Linked DNA regions of Homo sapiens: region 1 is linked to region 2. The links are contacts of gene promoters, found by promoter capture Hi-C in blood cells and fetal thymus (Javierre and others, 2016). All regions are on one chromosome and are shown on one strand. The core of a region is centred on a gene start or on the middle of the fragment in contact, and the rest is flanking DNA. Distances in the headings are between cores, read along the strand shown. Region 1 has its middle 58 kb from the start of SLC36A4. Region 2 holds the start of CEP295 (centrosomal protein 295).

Region 1 (5,962 bases), core at 851-3,350, 410 kb before region 2:
CTGACTTGGCTAAAGATTATGTATTTTTGAGTATCTTAAATGTGCAGAACTCTGATCCTAACTAAAAAAATCCCATTAGCCAGCAATTTCATCTTTGGTAAACACTCCTTTACAAACTCTAGTATATATTGTGAAAGTTATCAGAATCAAAGTGTAGTCACTAATGTTAAGAAAACTCTGACACATATAGCCAGAGAAGGCCATGAAGAGAAGATTCTCATGATTGTATGCCTAACAATGAAAAAGACTCCACAAAAACTACAGCATTGCACAAAAGCCATTGCAATCTTAGATCAAAAATACTTCTGCAAGGACATCTGCCTGGCAATGGCTTATTCAACCTTGGACTGATGTCAGTCTTGCTATTAATCTTTGTAGCTAAGAATAATTATTTCAAAACAGTTATGTAATCTTCCTCATTTTTTCCCTTTAAAAACCTTTGTCTTCCTTTACCTCCCTGAATATACACATTGTTCACTATGACATACGTATTCCCATTGCAATACTATATTCCCAAACAAACATATTTTCTTTTAGAGAGCCTCTTCTTGTTTGTTATTTAGGCTGACAATATGAAAGAATATTCATATAGCAGCATTGTTCACATATTGAAACTTTGAAGCAGTACAGGTGTCCATTAAGAGAAAAATAGATGAATATTCATATAATAGAACATTGTTATATTCAGCAACAGAATATAGCAGTTGGACTGAATGAAACTACAATGAAATGCAAAAAATATGGATGAATCTAGCATTATAATATTCACTGAAAAGTAAGCACCAAACGATTATACACTTTATTCTTTCATCTTTATGATGGTAGAGATTAACTAAAATAAATAGTCTGTAAGAATACTTAGAGATGCAATAAAACATGAAATTCAGGGTGATGCCATCATTCTTCACAGAACTAGAAGAAACAATCCTAAAATTCATCTGGAACCAAAACAGAGCCTGCATAGCCAAAGCAAGACTAAGCAAAAAGAACAAATCTGGAGACATCACATTACCAAACTTCAAACTATATCATAAGACTATAGTCACCAAAACAGCATGGTACTAGTATAAAAATAGGCACCTAGACCAATGGAACACAATAGAGAACGCAGAAATAAAGCCAAATACTTACAGCCAACTGATCTTCAACAAAGCAAACGAAAATATAAAGTGGGAAAGGACACCCTGTTCAACAAATGGTGCTGGAATAATTGGTAAGCCACGTGGAGAAGAATGAAACTGGATCCTCATCTCTCACCTTATATGAAAATCAACTCAAGATGGATAAAGGACTTAAATCTAAGACCTGAAACCATAAAATTTCTAGAAGATAACATTGGAAAAACCCTTCTAGACATTGGCATAGGCAAAGATTTTTATGACCAAGAACTCGAAAGCAAATGCAACAAAAACAAAGATAAATAGATGGGACTTGATTAAACTAAAAAGCTTATGCATGGCAAAATAAAAAATTAGCAGAGTAAACAGACAACCCACAGAGTGGGAGAAAATCTTTGCTGTCTATACATCTGACAATGGACTAATAAACAGAATCTACACGGAACTCAAACAAATCAGCAAGAAAAAAAAACAAATAAACAATCCCATCAAAAAGTGAGCTAAGGACATGAACAGGCAATTCTCAAAAGAAGATATACAAATGGCCAACAAACATAGGAAAGAATGCTCAACATCACTAATGATCAGGGAAATGCAAATCAAAACCACAATGCAATATCACGTTACTCCTGCAAGAATGGCCATAATCAAAAAAATAAAAAAATTTTACATGTTGGTATGGATGTGGTGAAAAGGGAACACTTTTACACTGCTGATGGGAATGTAAACTAATACAACCACTATGGAATATAGTGCGGAAATTCCTTAAAGAACTAAAATCTACCATTTGATCCAGCAATCCCATTACTAGGTATCTACCCAGAGGAAAAGAAGTCATTATACGAAAAAGATACTTGCACACACATGTTCATAGCAGCACAATTCGCAATTGCAAAAATGTGGAACCAGCCCAAATGCCCATCATTAATTGACGAGTGGATAAAGAAATTGTGGTATACATATACACACCATGGAATACTACGCAGACATAAAAAGGAATGAAATAATGACATTCACAGCAACCTGAATGGAATTGGAGACCATTATTCTAAGTGAAGTTACTCAGTAATGGAAAACCAAACATTGTATGTTCTCACTTAAGTGGGAGCTAAGCTATGAGGATGCAAAGACATAAAAATGATACAATGGACCTTGGGAACTCTGGGGAAAGGGTGGGAGAAGGTGAGGGATAAGAGACTACACATTGGGTACAGTGTATACTGCTTAGGTGATGGGTGCACCAAAATCTCAGAAATTACCACTAAAGAACATATTCACCTGCTCCCCAAAAACCAATTGAAATAAAAAATAAAGCAATTTCCTTTGGAAAAAAAATAATAAATTTTGTTATCTCTTCTTTCCTAAAAAAAAATTCAGGGTGATGTTTCCTAGGGCAGTGGATATATGGGGAAGTTGTATTAGCTATAGGTTATTGTCAAGGACCTAACTTTTATTTTAGTGATGGGTGGTCCATGATGTTTATTATATTATTAATTAATTAATTTGGTGGCCATATGTCAATCAATGGTACAAGAATTTTATTAACCAAAGACTATACTTAATGTAATTCCTGTCCTGAAAGGGCAAAAAAAATTAAACGCAGCAAAATAACCATATCTGATTTTAACGTTACTCAAGCTTTCAGTATTATCCAGTTACATATCCATGGTAAATACTCTAAATTAACTCATTCGGCCCTATCCTGGCTCCCTTTTAGCAGGCAGAGGCCAGAAAGCTAAAAACTATACTTCTCAGACTCCTTGCAGCTAATGTTGCCCCAGGTGTAATCAAATGACACTTTGATTTAGAACTAAGCAGCATGGGAAGAGGGACAGGATGTCACACCATTTTGCTGGTGTGGACAGTAGCATTGGCAAAGAGACAGTGTGGCTCAGGAGCAGATGGTTGGCATATCAGCTTCCTGAATCTTCAGTCTCTTGACCATTGCAGAAGCAACCGCTCCTTTGACTCAGTTCCACACACTGGTTTTAGAAGTTGTTTTTAGAAGGTCAGCCTAGAGGGCAATTCTTTGCCTTCCAATGGTACAATAAACCATACAATACCTTTTAATAAATTCATTTCTCTTGAACTTGCTGAATAGATGCTGTTCATTACAACTTAACTCCAGCTGATACAATATCCATAATAGAATATTTCCTATTTCTCAATTAGTTAGATAATCTTAAGAAACAACTGTCATTGATTAATTTTTATTTTTTGCTCAAAAGCTTTCTTCTGATCAAGAAAGGGCTGAAGCTTTGCTGTTCTTCTATTTAAACAGGAGTGATACACATGTAACTTGAAAGTATGACAGATAAAGGGTTTTATTTCTCAGAGTTCATCTTATTTGAGATAGAGAATATATGTTTTAGTAATACCAAATTGCTATACACCCATCATATTTCTTTATAGTGAAACAATATTGTGCTTATTGAGTATTAAAATTCTACAAATGTAGAAAGGCTTGTGACAATGTGATAATTAAATAAAGTTCAACTTACTATTAAAGTCACATCTACTCAAATGTTCCTAATACATAATCATTAATGAAGAAGGCTTATTACAATTCTGAAGTGACATGAAATGTATGTGATGTGGATACTTACACAGATAGGTCACACATCCTGCAAAAAGGACTCAGCAGGGTATCTGTTCATCTTTAGAGAATAGCTTAGTCTCTAGGCAGGAGTCCTGCCTGATTATGTAATGTGGCTCTTCACTGAGAGATGCCTAAATTGCATATAGTTTCTGCAAATGGCATTTCCCAGGGAAGAGGCTTCTGTTTCCCACATGTTGCATATGCAGCAAGATGACAATCAAGAGAATGAGAAATTATAATGATGTAATTATAGTAAGGCTACTACTTGCTGCTAAGTTTATTCTTCCTATTATTGTATTCTGCCCTGTGTGTAATAGACTCCTATTAAAGCTACATAGTAGAAGACGTTTCATCAGCTGCCCCACCACATCTTGCAGAAGGGTCAGGGCCTGCAAGGGTATTAGGGAGAGGGAAAGATTTTGCTACAGCTAATTGGATGTATGTTGAACACCTGACTAGAGGATGCTGTAGCAAATGCTTACGAGAGAATTTAAACTCAAAGCCACAAAGATTGAACATCAGTGGTAGATCTGATGCTGAGTGAAGGCTGGGGACTATTGGGCCGTGTGCAAGAGATAAGCAAGTAAAAGAAGTTATGGAGAAAAAGAGCCAGAGTGAAACAAACAGAAAGAAAGAAGCATACACAGGAAAAGGCTGTCAGTCTCGATTTCCATTCTGCTAAAAGAATATAATCTATTATAAACAATACCTCAAAAACATGCATAAACACACAACAAACAACCTTCACAAAGCACCTGCTTAGGTACTGACAAATCACCATGTTGAATCAATAATTATTCCCAGGGCCCCATTATGACTTTCATGGCACTTTGCCTTCATGGGTCCCTTCTTTCATTAAAAAATTTATTAATTATATTTTAAAACTGCAATGACATAAAGCAGGTATAGTCCAAGCTGGATTCATTATTATACATTCACTATTATTCATTTTTCTTCTGCTTTTAAAAGAAACTAAAATTAAGACATCTTCATGGGCCCGGAAAGTATTGTGAGCCATATGTACATAGGAACACTGTGTTATGTACCTAAACGGGTAAGTCAATTCTGTGAATTTCTAATACCTCAGAGGATTAGGCATAAGGAACTTTTGTCAAGCAAATGGTGAGGGTTCACCTTTTAACCCTCACCATTTCTTTTACGAGCTTTTCAATTTTCTTAATGTGGGCTTTATATTCTTCATGTACATTGTTTTAAAAATGCTTGACTTCGTTGTCAGCTGGTATTTCCCATTCCAAGTACATCTGCAATTTGCCTGTCAGTTTTAAGTGGTCATCATTCCCATCCTAAAAATTGATGCATTTTACTGTCCTGTCTCTCTTAGGGAAGTACATGACTTTGAACTGATTCACCTTAGGGACATGATTAGCTTTCCAAAATGGGCTGCCTTCTCAGAGCATCAACAGAGGAGTATCAGAGAAAACATGGAGAGTACAAGAGAGGAGACTGCAAAGGACTCAGTGCAAAACTTACAGGGAAAATGGAATATATGTGACCAATTTATTCCAGAGCTGACAGATTTGGATGAAGTGGCTTGACCCCTTTTCCTGCTATCCTTTAGAAAGCCAACTTCCTTGTGAGTTCCATTCCAAGGCCTGGAGTCAAATAAGCAAAGGCCACTTAGCACTATTTACAGAATGGATAGATAGTAAATATCAATGTGACTATATCTTGGAATCCTGTATATTAATAAAATAATTATAATTTTTATTTGTTTGATAATACTTTTTAATGTTAATTTTAAGCTATATTCAGTAGTTTAACTTTCCTTTCCTGCTCCTTGACAGACCTCCTTGCTCTGTCAGGCAGAGTTTCTTAATATTTTGAGAGTCACAGATCCCTTTCAGAATCTGAGATAACCATGAACTCTCTTCCTATAAAAAGGCACACACAGATCTCCTGAAGTTTGCCCATGGATTATCCATTTGAAAGCCTTAAAACAAAGAAGATAAATAATTTAATTAATGTGGTAATGTAATAAGTATATACAGTATGTAGAATTCTGCCCTATGAAAATGTAAATATTGCATTTTTCCTTTTTGTGTACTCACAGAAATATTTAAAGAAATTGATCATATAGTGAGCCACAAAGAAAATCTTAATAAATTCCAAAAAGAAAAATAAACAGAAAACTTGCCATCGATATTTTCTGATTACCATAATATAGAGGTAGAAATTACTAACAGAAGTATAAACAAAAGAATCCAACTTCCTGAAAATGTCAAAA
Region 2 (6,670 bases), core at 4,026-6,525:
CTATTTGATCTTTACGACGCAAAATTTTAAAATGTAATCTTTACAACTGCTCTATGAGATAGGGTAGGTATTAATATTTCTGGCACACATGGTGCATAATAAATGTTTGGTATTTTTATCCCTATTTTATAAATAGAGATTGAGCTTTGGAGGTTAACTGTTGGTCAAGTAGATGTTCAAACACACATCTTCAAAACTCTTCCCCACCCTACCCAAGCCCCCTCAATGGCTATGTACTTTTTTGGGTTGTATATGATTTCCTTTTTTTTTCTTTTTAACTAGACTTCTCTCTCTCTCTTTAAGCATGAAACTCAAACTCTACCCACTTATGTCTTAACAGGTATTCGTATTTTTGATACACATCATATTAGCAATGTGCTGGGAAAGATTTAAAAGATGGAACAGAGCCAGTGAATTTCCCTATTATCTCCTCTTGCTTCTTACTGTCTTTAAGCAAGTGGCTCAATTCCTTGGCTCAACTCCTACCCTATACCTCTAAAAAATATTTACAGCTTTTAAAAGTTTTTCTCAGCCTATCCTTCCTCTCCTGCCTGGCACTCTTAATTTCACTCCTGGTAGTAGCTCTAAATTATTCTACCGAGACACCGTCACTTGTTAAGCTCCTGTGGTGTGTATATTAGGGAGAAAGAGGGCAGTTAGCATATGGTCAGATGGAAGTTCTTTGATTACTTTTGTTCTTGCAGAGATCCCCCTTTTTTCTGGTGTTTATACATAAGAATTATTGAGGGTTCCTCCCCACTTAAATATCATTTGCTTATATTGGATGTGGATAAAGATGAAACAGTGAAACCGTTGCCATCAGAGAAACATCTTAAACTGTTCAAATCTTAAATGGCTTCAGTTGCATTTTGAAGAGTGGCAGCATTATAAACCAGTGACACTAATGTCATTACTGCTGAGGACAATTCTTCCTCTTGATCACTGGTTACTGAGGTTCATTCTCAATAGGTTAACAATACTAGAAACTAAATACACATACTTCTCCCTAGGCCTAAACTCTACAAAAAGACTGAATTAAAAATCAAACCAGGCCGGGTGTGGTGGCTCATGCCTGTAATCACAGCACTTTGGGAGGCCAAGGTGGGAGGATCACTTGAGTCCAGGAGTTGAAACCAACATGGGCAACAAAGCAATAGCCCATCTCTACTAAAAAAGAAAAAAAAAAATCAAATCCAAAACACCAATAAACACATTTAAGAGTTTGGGTTTTTTTCCCTCTCTTGTATTCTAAAATGAATGTATTAAAATTAAAGCCAAAAAAGGTAACATTTATTGCACATGTTGTGCCAGACATTGTTTCAAGAGCTTTAAACCTCACAAGAACCTGAGTACTTTCACTACATCTCTTTAAGAGATGAGGAAACAGACTTTTAAAGAAGTCCAGTAACTAGCTCAAAGTCACAGAGTTAGCCAGAAATTTAAATCCATTTGGAAGAAATCTATGTAACATTTTTATTTTTCAGACAGGGTCTCACTCAGTTGCCCAAAGTTTACTTACTGCAGTGGCACAATCATAGCTCACTGCAGCCTTGACCTCCTGGGCTCAAGCTATCCTCCCACCTCAGTCTCCCAAGTAGCTAGGACTACAGGTGCACACCACCATACCTGGCTAATTTTTAAATATTTTTGTAGAGATTAAGTCTCCCTATGTTTCCCAGGTTGGTCTCAAACTCCTGGGCTCAAGCAATCCTCCTGCCTCGGCCTTCCAAAGTGCTGGGATTATAGGTGTGAGCCACTGTGCTCAGCCAAGATCTTAAACATTATTCTATACTATCTCCCAAGATGTCCAGATGTGTTTGTCTATGAGAATTTAAATAAAAATCTACAGCCCTTTTTAATTTGCAAAAAAATAGAAATTCCCATTCAAAGCAGCTTCAGTAGAAGACTGAATGGCTGCTACCAGTTTGCTGCAGAATAGGCAGGCATATTGACCTCAGGTATGGCTAGATCCAGGGACTTGAACACTATCCAAATTCTCTCTCTGCGCTCCTTGCTGTCACACTCATTCTTTCAGACCAGCTTGTGGGGGACCACCTGGGAAAGCTCCAGGTTTACATCCTAACATGAGCCCAGAGAGGAAAATATTTGTCTCTGCTGTCTCCAGTGCCAATTCCTGTGAAAGACTCTGATTGCCCCAATTAGGTAACATACCTGTACCTCGGTTGGTCACAATGGCAATGGAAACAAGAACTGCGATTTGTCCAGTCTGGGTCACATGCCTACCCCGGTAGCCTAGAGGTCTGGGTCTGTACCAGAGGAGGAGAGAAAGGTGTTCGACAGAAAAATAAAATAAATAACTGCTAAACTACCTAGTATGTGTATACCCCTCTAGAGTTTACAAAGTGCTCTCATATGATTCATGCCTTTTGAGTCTCACAACCATCCTATAGAGAGGCGACATGAAGTATTACTAAGAAACGTGGTGGATTAAGATGGCTACAAATTCTTTGTCACTGCCTCCATTGAGAGATGGAGTTCATTTCCCTTTCACTTGAATCTGGCCTGGCTCCATGTTACTTAACCAATAAAATGTGATACAACTTACTACAACTCGTTCTCTGCCTCACCTTTTAAAGGACTTGCAGCTTCCACTTTATTCCTCTGCGAATGCTCACTCTTAAGATGCTCCCTCTCCAAACTAGCCACAATAGAGTGAGATGTCCAATCTACATGGACTGGTCATGAGTGGACACTCCAGTCAACAGTTCCAGCTGAGCTCTCAGCTGCCAGCCAACGTCAGCTGCCAGCCATAGTAAGTGACCCATGTTGGACATTCCAGGGTGGTTCGGTTGGCAGCAATTGATCGCCAAAACAGAAATGAAGACTCATTGATTTGAGGTCCCACGGCTAGAAAGTATCTGTGGTAATGCTAAGCCAGATGCTCTGACTCTAAGCCCACTTGGGCTTTGATTCCTCACTGCCTTCTATTAAAAACAGAACAAGTCTCGATTCAAAATCTCCAAGTGTAGAATTTCTGCCAAGGATGCAGGTTGAGGAAGTGAAGCATGTAATTTGGTCATTTATTCAGCTTTGTTCATTTATGCCAGGCAACTGAACAAAGTGCACTCCTGGTTCTCAAGAAACTTAGAGTGTAATCAATAGAGAGCCCTCTAAACAGCTCATTTCAATAAGAACTCCTAAGTGCCATGGGGCAGCATGTGCAGGAACCCATGTCCAGGCACTAAACCTAGCCCAAGGGATGAAATAATATGCACATGTTTTATCGGGTATGGAAGAGTATCTCCGTGCCTGTATGGAGGATGCTGAAAAAATGTTTAAAATGAATACAAATATTCTTCAAGATAAATGTGACAGGAAATGGGGAGAGAGGCTGAGAAGAACCCTAATATTTGGGAAGGAAACGTGAATTCTAGTCCTGGTTCACCCTTGACTGAAATGTGCCCTTGGCCAAGTTGCTGAATCTCTCTGTAACTCAGTATCCTGATCTGTAAATCTGAGGTGGAATCACACTATTTCTTCCTGTACCTTCCTTCCTCCTACTCCATCCCTTTAAGTTTTGGTGTTCCTCGGAGTTTGGTTCTTTGCTCATTGCTCTTCTCACTCTGCAAATTCTCCCTAAGTGATCTCATCCATTCCGCTAGCGTTTGTTATTACTCATGTAACAAGGAAATCCCTTTATGCTTAGCCTAGTTCTTTCTGTGGGCTATCTACCGATGTATTCATCTGCTTACAGTACATCACTGGATGTTCTACAGGCACATGAAGTTCAATATACACAGAGCTTGGCTCATCACCCTACCCACTTAACTGCCATTTCTGATTTCTCCCTTTACAATCAAGAATCAACACTGCTACCCAAGCTAGTGGCCTATGAAATCAACTTCACTTTCCCTTTTCTCTCAATCTCACATGCAATTGTTTGTCAAGTACTGCTAATTTTGTGTCCTAAGTTTCTGAAATGCATCCCTTTGTCTAGATATCTCATAAACAGCTCAAATTCAAAATATTCAAAGCTTAACTTATTACTTCTCCCTCCTGGTTCTCTTCATGTGTGTTCCAGGAGGATGTTATCACTATCTACCCAGGTGCTAGGTATCTGGGACTTGGGCATCACCCTTGTTTTCTCCTCTTGTGCCTCCCATAACCAGGTAACCACCAATTCCTGATGTTTGGCTTCCTATTCAATCTACTCACCTCTCTCCATTCTCATTGCTATTATCTTTCACTTTCTGTAGTAGTATACGGCCTTCTGTCTTCACTCTCTCTGACCTTTTCCCCACTGTGCAGCCAGATCTGATCGTGTCAGCAACTTCCCATCCCCACCCCCCATTTTTAATCCTTTGATTCCTGATGTTTAACCCCCATGACCCAGACTGCAAAATCTAGTATAGGCATCATAATCCATCCAGAGTAACATAATGTACTCGGCACATAACAGATACTCAATAGGTATTAACCTGTGCTCACCGCCTGATTATTGGTTATTTACAGCAGATAAATCCGTGAGGTGCTCTCCGTGCGCTGTACCTCTGGAGGCACAGGGTAACATACGGCTCATTGTTGTTATGAGCTGGAGGCCTTAAATGAAAGCTATAAGACGTTAACTGCGCATAATAGTACCAATGAATTCCGTAGTCAGTACAGAAAAGGATGCATATCCCAAGATATCTTCATGATGGGGCCTTAAAACAAAAGTCACCCTCATGGCTCTGCACTTTTTTTTTTTTTTTTTAGACAGGCTTTGGCTCTGTCGCCCAGGCTGGAGTGCAGTACTGGCGGGATCTCGGCTCACTGCAACCTCCACCTCCTGGGTTCAAGCGATTCTCCTGCCTCAGCCTCCCGAGTAGCTGGGATTACAGGCGCCCACCACCACGCACGGCTAATTTTTGCTGTTGTCGTATTTTTTGTAAAGATGAGGTTTCACCATGTTTTTAAAAGGACTTGGTCTTGAACTCATAACCAAAAATACATAACCTCGAACTCTTGGGCTCAAGTGATCCTCCCGCCTTGGCCTCCCAAAGTGCTGGGATTACAGGCGCGAGCCACCGAGCGCGGCCCATACGGGAAAACGTCAAAGCCTGACAGGTGTGACAAATAATGGGCCCCTAGGCAGGCTGGGGCTGGCGCGTGCCTGTGCGCGTGCGCGGGGCGCGGGGTTTTTAACACCGCGCAGCCTTCCCGGCGGCCCCCGAGGAAGGCGGGACAGGGCCTATTCCCGCGGTTTGGTCCGGCCATTGGCGGGCGGTTTGAATGACGGAAGTGACGGCGGCTCGGCGATGGCTCTCCCGCAGGCGCAGAAACGGCTGCTGGGCAGCTGATGGGCAGGAGCTTACCAGGCTGGCTTGCTCTGAGCTGCGGTTACTGTGTCCAGGCCCCGGGTTCTCAGGTGAGTCAGGGATGCACTGGCTTCCCAGTCGCCCCGTAGGAGCATGACTCCCCGAGGCCCAAGAGCTGGGATTGTATTCCGGAGGAATGGGATCCCAGGAAGGCGCCTTGTTGCGAACGCAGGTACGGCTCGCGTTTCTCAGGCTCCGCAGGCCGTGGGCCCTGCCCGCGGTCGGGCTGGCGGCTGTAAGGAGTGTCCGGACCAGACCCGGTAACTCAGTGCGAGAGGCTTTGCGCGCTCTCCTGGGGTCGGGTCGCGCGAGCTTCCCACGCAGCCTCCCCTGTCGCGGAGCTTCCGTGTCGGGGGAGGGGCGCTTCCCCCAGATCACCCGCGGACATGGCCTGCCACCTGGTAGCTGTTAAAAGAGCCTTGCCTGGATCGTTTCATGCAAAGAGCACGCTCTCTTTTGGTGTCTGCCACCTTAATCTCACAGTTATTCAATCCTGTCACAAACTCAACTTTTAAAACAATGGTGAACTTTTGAGTCCTTAATACTTAGAGTGTATTTGAAGACTTCACGCTAAGTCACATAGACGTCAGAACAAACCTTTTGGGGTAGATATTATTATTCCCTTTATACAGTTTAAGAAAACGAAACCAAAGTGACTTCAGTGACTTGGCCAGTATCTTCCTGCTAATAAGTGGCAGTGTTGGGTCTTGAACCCAGATCTTCCAAGTTTAGTGTTAATTTTGTGATTACTATGTACCAGGAGCCATTTAATCCTCAGGACGAAATCTTGCAAGATAAGTAGTATAATCTTCAATATTGGATAGTAATAAAATGTAGAATTTAAAAATCCATATTACTAAGAATAAATAATTAATAAACAAGTAAATGGGGCAGCAGGGAAAACTTCCTTACAGCAGGATTCCGATTGATAATTGTAGAAGGAATAATGGAAATAGAAAATACTATTTGGTAAACACCACAGTAGTTGTTTCAGACAACAGTCATCAATGGATACTAACGTCAATGGGCAAAAGTATGATGAAAAGCATATTTCTGTAGCCTCTACTCTGTCTTCATGAGATATTTATAAAGGAAAAGTAGTAACTACAGAGGAGAAACCTGGTGGACATCATCTTAACCAAGTGACCAAAATTCAGCATCATTTACCTCTTGATAACAATGCACTGAAAAGGTGCCTAATCAATTCTGTGGTGTTCTTGCCAAAAATACATAACCTCAGTTTAATCACATAAGATTAGACAAATCTAAATGGAGGGACATTCAACAAAGTACTTGGCCAGTATTTTCAAAAATGACAGGGTCTTGAAAAGACAGACTGAGAAACTGTCCCA

What was found. Contacts are between HindIII fragments. The CHiCAGO score rates a contact against its expected background, and 5 or more counts as called.
Region 1: a contact is called between a fragment that was not itself captured here and the fragment with the promoter of CEP295 in region 2, in 1 of 17 cell types (M2 macrophages). The highest score is 5.7, in M2 macrophages.

The regions. Positions count from the first base shown.
Region 1 is chr11:93,252,995-93,258,956 of GRCh38, forward strand. No RefSeq gene overlaps it. Among named protein-coding and RNA genes, the nearest start is that of SLC36A4, 58 kb to the left of the region's middle. The HindIII fragment of the contact is 1,308 bases long and covers 1,447-2,754 here.
Region 2 is chr11:93,656,407-93,663,076 of GRCh38, forward strand. It overlaps CEP295 (centrosomal protein 295), which reads left to right and starts at 5,276. Exons shown (of 30, transcript NM_033395.2): 1 at 5,276-5,368. RefSeq lists a silencer at 5,040-5,109 and an enhancer at 5,270-5,399. The HindIII fragment of the contact is 3,556 bases long and covers 3,994-6,670 here.